Linked DNA regions of Homo sapiens: region 1 is linked to region 2. The links are contacts of gene promoters, found by promoter capture Hi-C in blood cells and fetal thymus (Javierre and others, 2016). All regions are on one chromosome and are shown on one strand. Each heading gives the region's core, a stretch centred on a gene start or on the middle of the fragment in contact. The rest is flanking DNA. Distances are from core to core; before and after follow the strand shown. Region 1 holds the start of MCM7 (minichromosome maintenance complex component 7). Region 2 holds the start of TRIM4 (tripartite motif containing 4).

What was found. Contacts are between HindIII fragments. The CHiCAGO score rates a contact against its expected background, and 5 or more counts as called.
Region 1: a contact is called between the fragment with the promoter of MCM7 here and a fragment that was not itself captured in region 2, in 7 of 17 cell types (naive CD8 T cells, naive CD4 T cells, total CD4 T cells and 4 more). The highest score is 9.8, in naive CD8 T cells.

Annotation. Positions count from the first base shown.
Region 1 is chr7:100,099,976-100,104,222 of GRCh38, reverse strand. It overlaps MCM7 (minichromosome maintenance complex component 7), which reads left to right and starts at 2,826. Exons shown (of 15, transcript NM_005916.5): 1 at 2,826-2,959; 2 at 4,130-4,209. The coding sequence starts at 2,929. AP4M1 (adaptor related protein complex 4 subunit mu 1) reads right to left here and starts at 2,580. Exons shown (of 15, transcript NM_004722.4): 1 at 2,451-2,580; 2 at 2,255-2,343; 3 at 1,442-1,548; 4 at 1,263-1,359; 5 at 704-814; 6 at 531-611; 7 at 69-131. The coding sequence starts at 2,508. RefSeq lists enhancers at 2,502-2,551, 2,574-3,126, 3,472-3,631 and a silencer at 3,262-3,361. The HindIII fragment of the contact is 6,263 bases long and covers 1-4,247 here.
Region 2 is chr7:99,915,196-99,919,823 of GRCh38, reverse strand. TRIM4 (tripartite motif containing 4) reads left to right here and starts at 294. Exons shown (of 6, transcript NM_033091.3): 1 at 294-815. The coding sequence starts at 423. LOC101927610 (a long non-coding RNA gene) reads right to left here and starts at 221. Exons shown (of 2, transcript XR_001745296.3): 1 at 1-221. RefSeq lists enhancers at 1-32, 273-352, 383-432 and a silencer at 563-722. The HindIII fragment of the contact is 1,169 bases long and covers 2,378-3,546 here.

The DNA of each region.
Region 1 (4,247 bases), core at 1,577-4,076, 180 kb before region 2:
TTAGCCACCCCACCATGTTTCCCAAGTCCCATCTGTCCTCAGCTCCAGGTTTGGGAGCTCAAACTTACATTAGATGCTATCAGTACAGACAATCTCTCGACCACATCCAAAAAAACTTCATTCTTTTGGCTCTGAGAAAGAGAGAGAATTTGGGTGGTTGGAAGCAGAATAGCCTATGTTCTGAAATGGACAGACAGGGAGAAAGAACAGGACAGTCAAAGCTACAGCTCTAGGGTGAGGACATGGGTGATGGAAGGGATCATCTCCCACCTCCACCCACATCTGGGGGGGTGGGAGATGTGCCAAGATCTTTTTCTTTTTTTTTTTTTTTTTTTGCATTTTTAGTAGAGACAGGTTTTCACCATGTTGGCCAGGCTGCTCTGAAACTCCTGGCATCAGGTGATCTGCCCACCTCGGCCTCCCAAAGTGCTGGGACTACAGGCGTGAGCCGCTGTGCCCGACCTAAGATCTTGGACTCCCGGATCCCAGAGCAAAACCAGAGCGTCTGACCCCATGGATCCTTCCCTCACCTGGTCAGAGCGACTGGACAGGACGGGGCGGCTGGCTGCACTGCTGGGGGCCACTTTGCTCTGTTGTGTCTCAGCCCCAAACTGTAAAGCATCCAAAGCAATCAATCATCAGGTCTGACAACCCCAGCCAACCCCTCTTCTCTTTCCTCACCCTCCTCTTTCCCTCTACTGACCAAGCCAACGCTGCTGAGGTCAAAGAGGCTGAAGGGCTTGCTGACCACAGCTTCCGTCTGGATGAAATTCCTCAGCATCTCCGTGGATGTGGTCTGTACATAGCCATAGTCCTAGTGGTAAAGGAAGGACAGTCTGAGTGATCAGTGGAGGGAAGGGGTAAAGAGGGGGAGTGGGGCCAGGCATGGTGACTCACTCCTGTACTCTCAGCGCTTTGGAAGGCCGAGACGTAGGAGAATGGCTTGAGGCCATGAGTTCAAGACCAGCCTGGGCAACACAGTGAGACTCTAGTCTCTACAAAAAATAAACAATTAGCTAGGCACAGGGGAGGCTGGGGCAGGAGGACGGCTTGAGCCCAGGAGTTCCAGGCTGCAGTGAGCTATAACTGCACCACTGCAGTCCAGCCTGGGCAACAGAGCAAGACCCTGTCTCTAAAAGCAAAAAAAAAAAAAAAAAAAAAGGTAGACTTGGCCTCCTAACCACGGCATCCCACAGTAGAAGAGCAGATGTATCTTCAGGGGAATTGGGTAGGGGCCACAGAAGGGGATTGTTGATTCTCACCAGCACTTCATCCAGGAGTTCGTATACCAGAGCCACATTGCGGGAGATGGTCCCCTCGCCCAGGGAGCCACAGTAATCGCCCAGAAGGGTGGCCAACCTGAGGAAACACTTGGAGCGTGTATTTTCTCCTCCTCTCAGACCCCTCCTAGCTACCAGGTGCCCAGCCCAACCCTCCTCACCTGGAGAGCAGTTCTAGGAGGCTGAAGGGAGAAACGTTTTCTGAAGTTGTGACCACCAAATAGAGGCCGCTGTGTCTGATGTGAATGAAATGACGGCCATGGTGATGCTGAGACACAGGCAGGGAGAAGAGAGGCGTTAAAAAAAGGGAGGTGGAGTGATCAGAACCCAGGAGACCTGAGCTCGGATCCCGATGCCTCTTACTAGTCACAACAGCAGTGCCTTTGGGAGATACATGACATATGCCTGGGCCCAGCTTCCCAATGTGGAAAGGGGGTTAATTACACTAACTACCCCGAGTTGCTGAGGATGGAGTCACGCAGGGAGCTGGGCCTGGTGTGTTGCTGGCGCCCATTGACTCTTTTTTTTTTTTTCCCCACCCCCACCTACCCCGAGAGGGAGTCTCGCTCTGTCTCCCAGGCTGGAGTGCGGTGTCCGGATCTCGGCTCACTGCAACCTCTGCCTCTTGGATTCAAGCGATTCTCAAGCCTCAGCTTCCCGAGTAGATGGGATTACAGGCGCCCGCCACCACGCCCAGCTATGTTTTTTTTTTTTTTGTATTTTTAGTAGAGGCGGAGTTTCACCATGTTGGCCAGGCTGATTTCGAACTCCTGACCTCAGGTGATCCGCCCGCCTCGGTCTCCCAAAGTGCTGGGATTACAGGCGTGAGCCACCGCGCCGGGCCTCACGTTAGCTTTATTTGGCGGAATGCACCCCCCAAGTGGAATCTACCAATGAACCAGTCCTGGGAGGGAGCTGGCGCCCACCCGGCCCGACGGGACCCCGCTCCTCACCCGCCTCCCGCCACTGGTTACCATGACAACCGGGGACTCGTCTCCTGGCAGTCCCGTCAGCTTCCGGTAGAAGAGCTCGGCCACATCCCGGCCGCCACTGTCCCCGCGGACTGGCGGGTGGAAGGACTCAGTGAAGGATCCTGCGACACAGGCTGGCCCTGGGCGCCCCTCCCGCCCGGCCCCTCCGCCCCTTCCCAGCCCCAAGGGTCTAGGATACAGTCTTTGTAGATGAGCGGGTCCCCCTTGGAGGACAGAATGAAGAATTGGGAAATCATGGCCGTTCTGGAGAGTAGACAAGAAGACGGCGAAAGTCGGGCCTGCCCCGCCCTGCGGCCCCGGAACAAAAGAACGCGTGTGCGCTGGCCCTTTAAGAGCGATTCTCCTCCGCCCGCGCCAGCTCGGACCGCGGGAAACCCGGCGCCTGCACTACCCCGCCCGGAGATTCCCTTCCGACGCCCGCACCGCCTCCCCGTCACTCATTCTAGGCCCGCACGGTGATTGGCTTGCGGCTAGCGGGAGGTGAAGAAGGCCGCCTTGTCCGATTGGCCCGCACGCAGTGGCGCCGGTCACGTGGGGGGCGACGTTTCGCGCCAATTTCGGTTGGCCGGCCACAGTCCACCGCGCGGAGATTCTCAGCTTCCCCAGGAGCAAGACCTCTGAGCCCGCCAAGCGCGGCCGCACGGCCCTCGGCAGCGATGGCACTGAAGGACTACGCGCTAGAGAAGGGTACGGGTCTACGAGCCCGGGAGGGCGTCCTGCGCGGGGAGCCTCCCGGGGAACACCTGTTGGTGTGAGCTGGGGTCTTGGGGGACCGGGGTCGGCGGGTTCTGGGGTGCGCGAGGCCAGAGGCAGGGTCGAGCTGCGGCCTGGCTAAGGCCCACGGGGCCTGGGAAGCGTGCGGGGGGCCATCGATGTTGAAGAAAAGCTAGTAATCCCACCTGGTAAAGGTGTTAGGGTCGTGGGGTTGGGGGCTTGGGGGCGCGCTAACCCGGCTGGGGGCTGCACAGGGAAAAGTCGCGCCCAGGACCTCAGGAGAGTCTTAAGGGCTCTGGGCTCCCGTGCCCGCTTTCCTTCGCGCTTTTGGGCATTCCCAGGTTCCCGCGCCCTCCCCAGGCGCGCGTAGGCCCCGGGGGCGGGCAGGCCGGGGCCGCTGCGCGCCGGGATTGGCCGTTTGAGGCCGCCCTCCGAGCGGAAGTGGAGCCGGGCGGAAGTGGCGCGAGGAGGCTGGAGGGAGTGTCGTGTAAACAGTGTCCTTCCGCGCGGCGGCCGCGGAGAGAGCTGCGGCCCGGGGGGGCGTGCCTGGGATCCGGAGCTTCGCTCGGGCCCGGGAAAGGCGGCAGTGGGCTGGGATCGCGGTGTCTCTGGGTGTGATGGCCAATGGCTGGACTGGCTCCCGCCCTGGGCGGAGGAATCCCGAGCTGTGAAGCGGCTGGAATCCGGGCCCATGTGCTTCTTTGTTTACTAAGAGCGGAAGCGATGGCGGGAGCGGGGGTGGGGTGCGGTGGCGGGGTGCGGTGGCGGAGGTCCCGGTGAAATCAGGGGCTAAGGGGACCCAAAGAAGGCGGGGGATCATAGGGGTGGAAAGAAAGCTGAGAACCTTGAGACCGGAGTGTGAGGGGCCAACGGGGAAGGGCGCTAGAATTTTAAACTAAAGTAGGGACCGGAATTCCCCTGGGGAGATGTTGGATGGCCCTGTGCACTGCCACGGGCTCTTTATTCTTCGCTGGTTAGAAACAGACTTGTGAAAAAGAGTTATGCCCACTTTGGGGAGACTTCGGTAGGTTTATTTAAATGCTCATATTATTAATTAGTTCATAGGTCGTGTTTTAAGCGAAAATGGGTATCTAAGATTTGTCTTAAAGTTTGTGTCTTACGGTTTTACATTTCATGTTACAGAAAAGGTTAAGAAGTTCTTACAAGAGTTCTACCAGGATGATGAACTCGGGAAGAAGCAGTTCAAGTATGGGAACCAGTTGGTAAGTCTAAGATTGGGTAAAGGGAATGGGGAGCGGGG
Region 2 (4,628 bases), core at 1,713-4,212:
ACCCTCAAACTTGGAAAGAAAGATCATAGGCACCTCCCCGGTTGGCTCCCCCAGGGACCACAACGTCCGGCTCTAACGCCTTGCCCAAGTCCTCTGTAGCTTTCCACAGGCATTTCTGGGTCTCTATAGCTGTTTGGAGGAGCCACTCACCGGTCCCGTCCTGCCCCGCGCCTAGGCCTGAACCAACCCCCTCGCGGTTCCGGCGCGGATACCCAGCAGCTTCCGGTCTTGCGCGCTCAGGCCGGGCAACGTCCGTGCGTTCTTTTTGGGTCCTGAACCCCGGAAGAGAAACTGCGTTGTACCCTTTTACGTGAGGCGGTGACGGCGGTTCGGAAGTCGTCTGGCCTCCCCGCGGCCGCTCGCAGCTTGCTGGCCTCTCCCGCGCCTCACGTCGGACTCCGTCTCCGCGGCAGGGAAGCAGCATGGAAGCTGAGGACATCCAGGAGGAGTTGACCTGCCCCATCTGCCTGGACTATTTCCAGGACCCGGTGTCCATCGAGTGCGGCCACAACTTCTGCCGCGGCTGCCTGCACCGCAACTGGGCGCCGGGCGGCGGCCCGTTCCCCTGCCCCGAATGTCGGCACCCATCGGCGCCCGCCGCGCTGCGACCCAACTGGGCCCTGGCCAGGCTGACTGAGAAGACGCAGCGCCGGCGCCTGGGCCCCGTGCCCCCGGGCCTGTGCGGCCGCCACTGGGAGCCGCTGCGGCTCTTCTGCGAGGACGACCAGCGGCCAGTGTGCCTGGTGTGCAGGGAGTCCCAGGAGCACCAGACTCACGCCATGGCACCCATCGACGAGGCCTTCGAGAGCTACCGGGTGAGCTGGCCGTCGCGGTGACTATGACGGGGCTGTCAGTGTTGCCCGATAAAGTTTACTTAATGCTCCTAAAAGAGCCACGAAGTGGCTGTCATTCCTACTGGAAGCATGAAAAGCCCCTGAAACTCAAAGAAGTTAAGCAAAACACGAATTTCAGAGCTAGGGTTAAAACTGGAATGAGAGGAGGGGAGGTGCAAACCTCAGCAATCATTGTGCAGAATTTTCAATAAACTGGCCCTTGGGGAGCTCATAATAAAGAAAAACATACTGAGAGGGTGTGTGCCGCTGCTGTCCAATAGAAACCACATATGTAATTTAAAATCTTTCTGGTAAGATAAGGAAACGAGGTGACGTTAATTGTAATAATATATTTTATTTAATCTGATTACCCCAAATATTCAAAGCTGAGATGAAAATTATCAATGAGATTTTTTTTTTTTTTCTGAGATGGAGTCTCACTTTATTGCCCAGGCTGGAGCACAGTGGCGTGATCTTGGCTCACTGCAACCTCCTCCTCCGGGGTTCAAGCAGTTCTCCTGCCTCAGCCTCCCGAGTAGCTGGGATTACAGGCACACGCCACCACACCCGGTTAATTTTTGTTTTTTAGTATAGAGGGGTTTCACCATCTTGGCCAGGCTGGTCTCGAACTGCTGACCTCAAGTGATCTGCCCCGCTTGGCCTCCCATAGTGCTGGGATTAAGGTGTGAGTCACCACGCCCGGCCTCAATGAGATATTTTATACTCCTTTTTCATAATAGGTCTGAAATTGGTGTGTATTTTACATTTACAACACATAGCAGTTTGGAATATCCACGTTTCAGGTGCTTGTATGGCTAAATGGATACTGTATTGGACAGTGCCTGTCTGTATCTGTAAATGTCATAGACAGCTGATGATTTGGGAAAAGCCTAGCTTGTAATGATGAGGCTGGGTTTTGTTACTAGCTTCCTTCATCAGTTGGGAAAATCCTGTAACATTTGAATTTGGGGATTATCTGTCCTATCTCATGGGTTAAGAAGCTCCGGTTGAATAAATCACTTTACCTTACTCTGCTTCAGCCATACTGGCTTTCTTGCTTTTGTTTCAAGTCTGTTCTCTTTCTCTACCCACATCTATCCTTTAGATCCTTTTAGCTTTTAGCTTGAAGACCTTCCCTGATCATCCTTTCCAGAGTAGCCCCACCCCCTCCCATTACTGATGGTGTAACTCCAGTGGTCTCCAGCAGAATTGATATGCAGTAAGTACATGAACACATGAATTTATTTATTTATTTTATTATTATTGTTTTTGAGATGGAGTTTCGCTCTTGTTGCCCAGGCTGGAATGCAGTGGTGAGATCTCAACTCACTGCAACCTCCACCTCCCGGGTTCAAGTGATTCTCCTGCCTCAGCTTACCGAGTAGCTGGGATTACAGGCACCTGCCAGCATGCCCAGCTAATTTTGTATTTTTAGTGAAGACAGGGTTTCACTATGTTGGTCAGGCTGGTCTCGAACTCCTGACCTCAGGTGATCCACCCACCTTGGCCTCCCAAAGTGCTGGGATTACAGGCGTGAGCAAGCTTTCCTGGCCAAACACATGAATTTAATGACACAGTGAAAATGTTTGGAAACTGTAAAATACTGTACAGTTGTACCAGCTGACTATGAACAGGAAACAGACACAAAGCTGGACTAGAAAGTGTATGTTCATTCCTTCACTCAGTAACGTTTATTGATGCTTACTATTTGCCAAACATTGTTTTAGAATCTGGACATAAGTGGATGAGAAAGACATGGGCTTTGTCTTGTAAGGAACTTAAGCGTGTACAACATTAATTTCAGTGTGTGTGAGAGTAGCTGAAGTATTTACCAAGTGTACAGAAGGTCTGAGGTCGGAGTGATCACTGAGGAGTGAGGAAAGGCTCCGTTGAGGAGTTAAATGTGTTAGCTCTTCAAGGGTGAGTAGAGGTAGGAAAGAAGGTATTTCAGGCCAAAGGAACAGCATATTCCAAATGTGGTGGAGTGGGATAGCATGTGGTGTGTGAGAGGACTGGAGGTTGCTCAGTACTTCTGGAGCATGGAGCATGGGAAGGAGGATGGTGGGCCATGAGCTTGAAGAAAAAGGCAGGGCCTTATCATGAAGGATCTTGTTTGCCATAGTAAAAAGATTGAACTTTCTCTTTCAGGCAGTGGGGAGTTATAAAAGGGTTTTAAGGCAGGGAATGATATGATCGTTTTTTTTGTTTTAGACAGGTAACTTTGACATCCACGTGGATGAATGGAAGAGAAGACTAATTAGGCTGCTCTTGTACCATTTTAAGCAGGAGGTAATAAAGACCTGAATTAGTTCAGGGCAGGGATGATGGAGAGGGAGGGATGGAGTGATAATGAGCTGGAGTTGAATGACTTGGTGATCAATTAGACTTGGTGGGTGAGAGAGAGAGGAGTCTTGGATGGTAGTTCAGATTTCTGCTTCAGATGGCAGGTAGATGACTGTCAGGTTAACTGAGGTAAGGTACACAGGAGGAAGCGTAGTCTTAGGACAGAAGATCCCATGCTTGTGGAATGTACTGAGTGTGAAGTAATTGTGACAGGAAGTCCAAGGAAGAGGGACAGGAGGTGGGGTGCCTTGGAGGCTAGAGATAATATTTTAGAATCCTCAGCCTGTTCTTGAAGTCATGGAAGAAGTAAGAAGATGAGATTCTCCTAGGAGGACCACATAGAGAGTAAAAAAAGGCACAAAGAGAAGCTTGGGAAACACCAATGGTTGGTAGCCAGCAAAAGACATGGAGAGGACCCATCAGATAAATGGAAGGGAAAATACACTTGTGGGTGGGGGCCGAGGGAAATATAAGTGGATGGGTATGAAAGGGGAACATAGCCCTTAAATCTTCCATCTTCAGCAGTAATAGCTATCAGTTGTTCATTACTTCTTACGTACCACCCACAGTTCTAAGCATTTTTCATACTGTAATTCTTTAATCTTCATAGACATCCTATTAGGTGGATTCTGTTATTCCCTTTTTGAAGATGAGGCAACTGTGCCACAGAGATGTGAGGTTACATGCCCCCGAGGTCACAGAACTAGGAAGTGGCTATGCTTGAACTGAGGTCTTCTAACCCCTAATCCTTTACACTTTTCACTCTGCCACAACTAATCTGAGAAGACTTCTTAGAAGAGGTGGGATTTCAGGATTAAACACAATGGCCCAACAGGACAGGAGTGGATGGGTAAGGGTTACACTGGGATGGGCTGAATGTCACAAGGTTGACTTCGTAGGTGTTCAGGAGCCAGGTCACTGGGCGGAATTCCCTGATATCCGCCCATCTCTCCATCCTCCTCTGCTTAGTCACTGCCCTATTCAACCACCTTTCATTCCATCCCCACCCCAAGTTAGTTAGAAAAACATAAACTGCCCCTGGGTGAAGCTGCTTTATTTCCAAGCATCCCATTCTCAGCATATACTCAGATGGATGGACTGTGTTTTAAAAGTTGGATAGCTGGAAGTTCCCTAAATCCATGGAAAATATCCCCATCCTATACCCGTTATGGTGAGGGGAGAAAAAGAGAAAAGAGAAAGAGAAATAGCTTCATAAATCTCCGGATGCAAATTGTTTGCATGGAAAAGGCCTCCAAGTGCAGCTCTTTTTTCCTTCATGCCTGACTCTAGGAGCTAATCCCTCCATTCTGTTAATTAATTTAAGATGTTTATTGAGCACTGGCTTTGTGTCAGATGCTGTGGCACGGCACCAGATGCAGCACTGGGAATCCAGTGGTGAACAAGACAGGTAAAGGCTTTCCATGGAGCTCACAGTCCAGTTGGGCTGAGGGT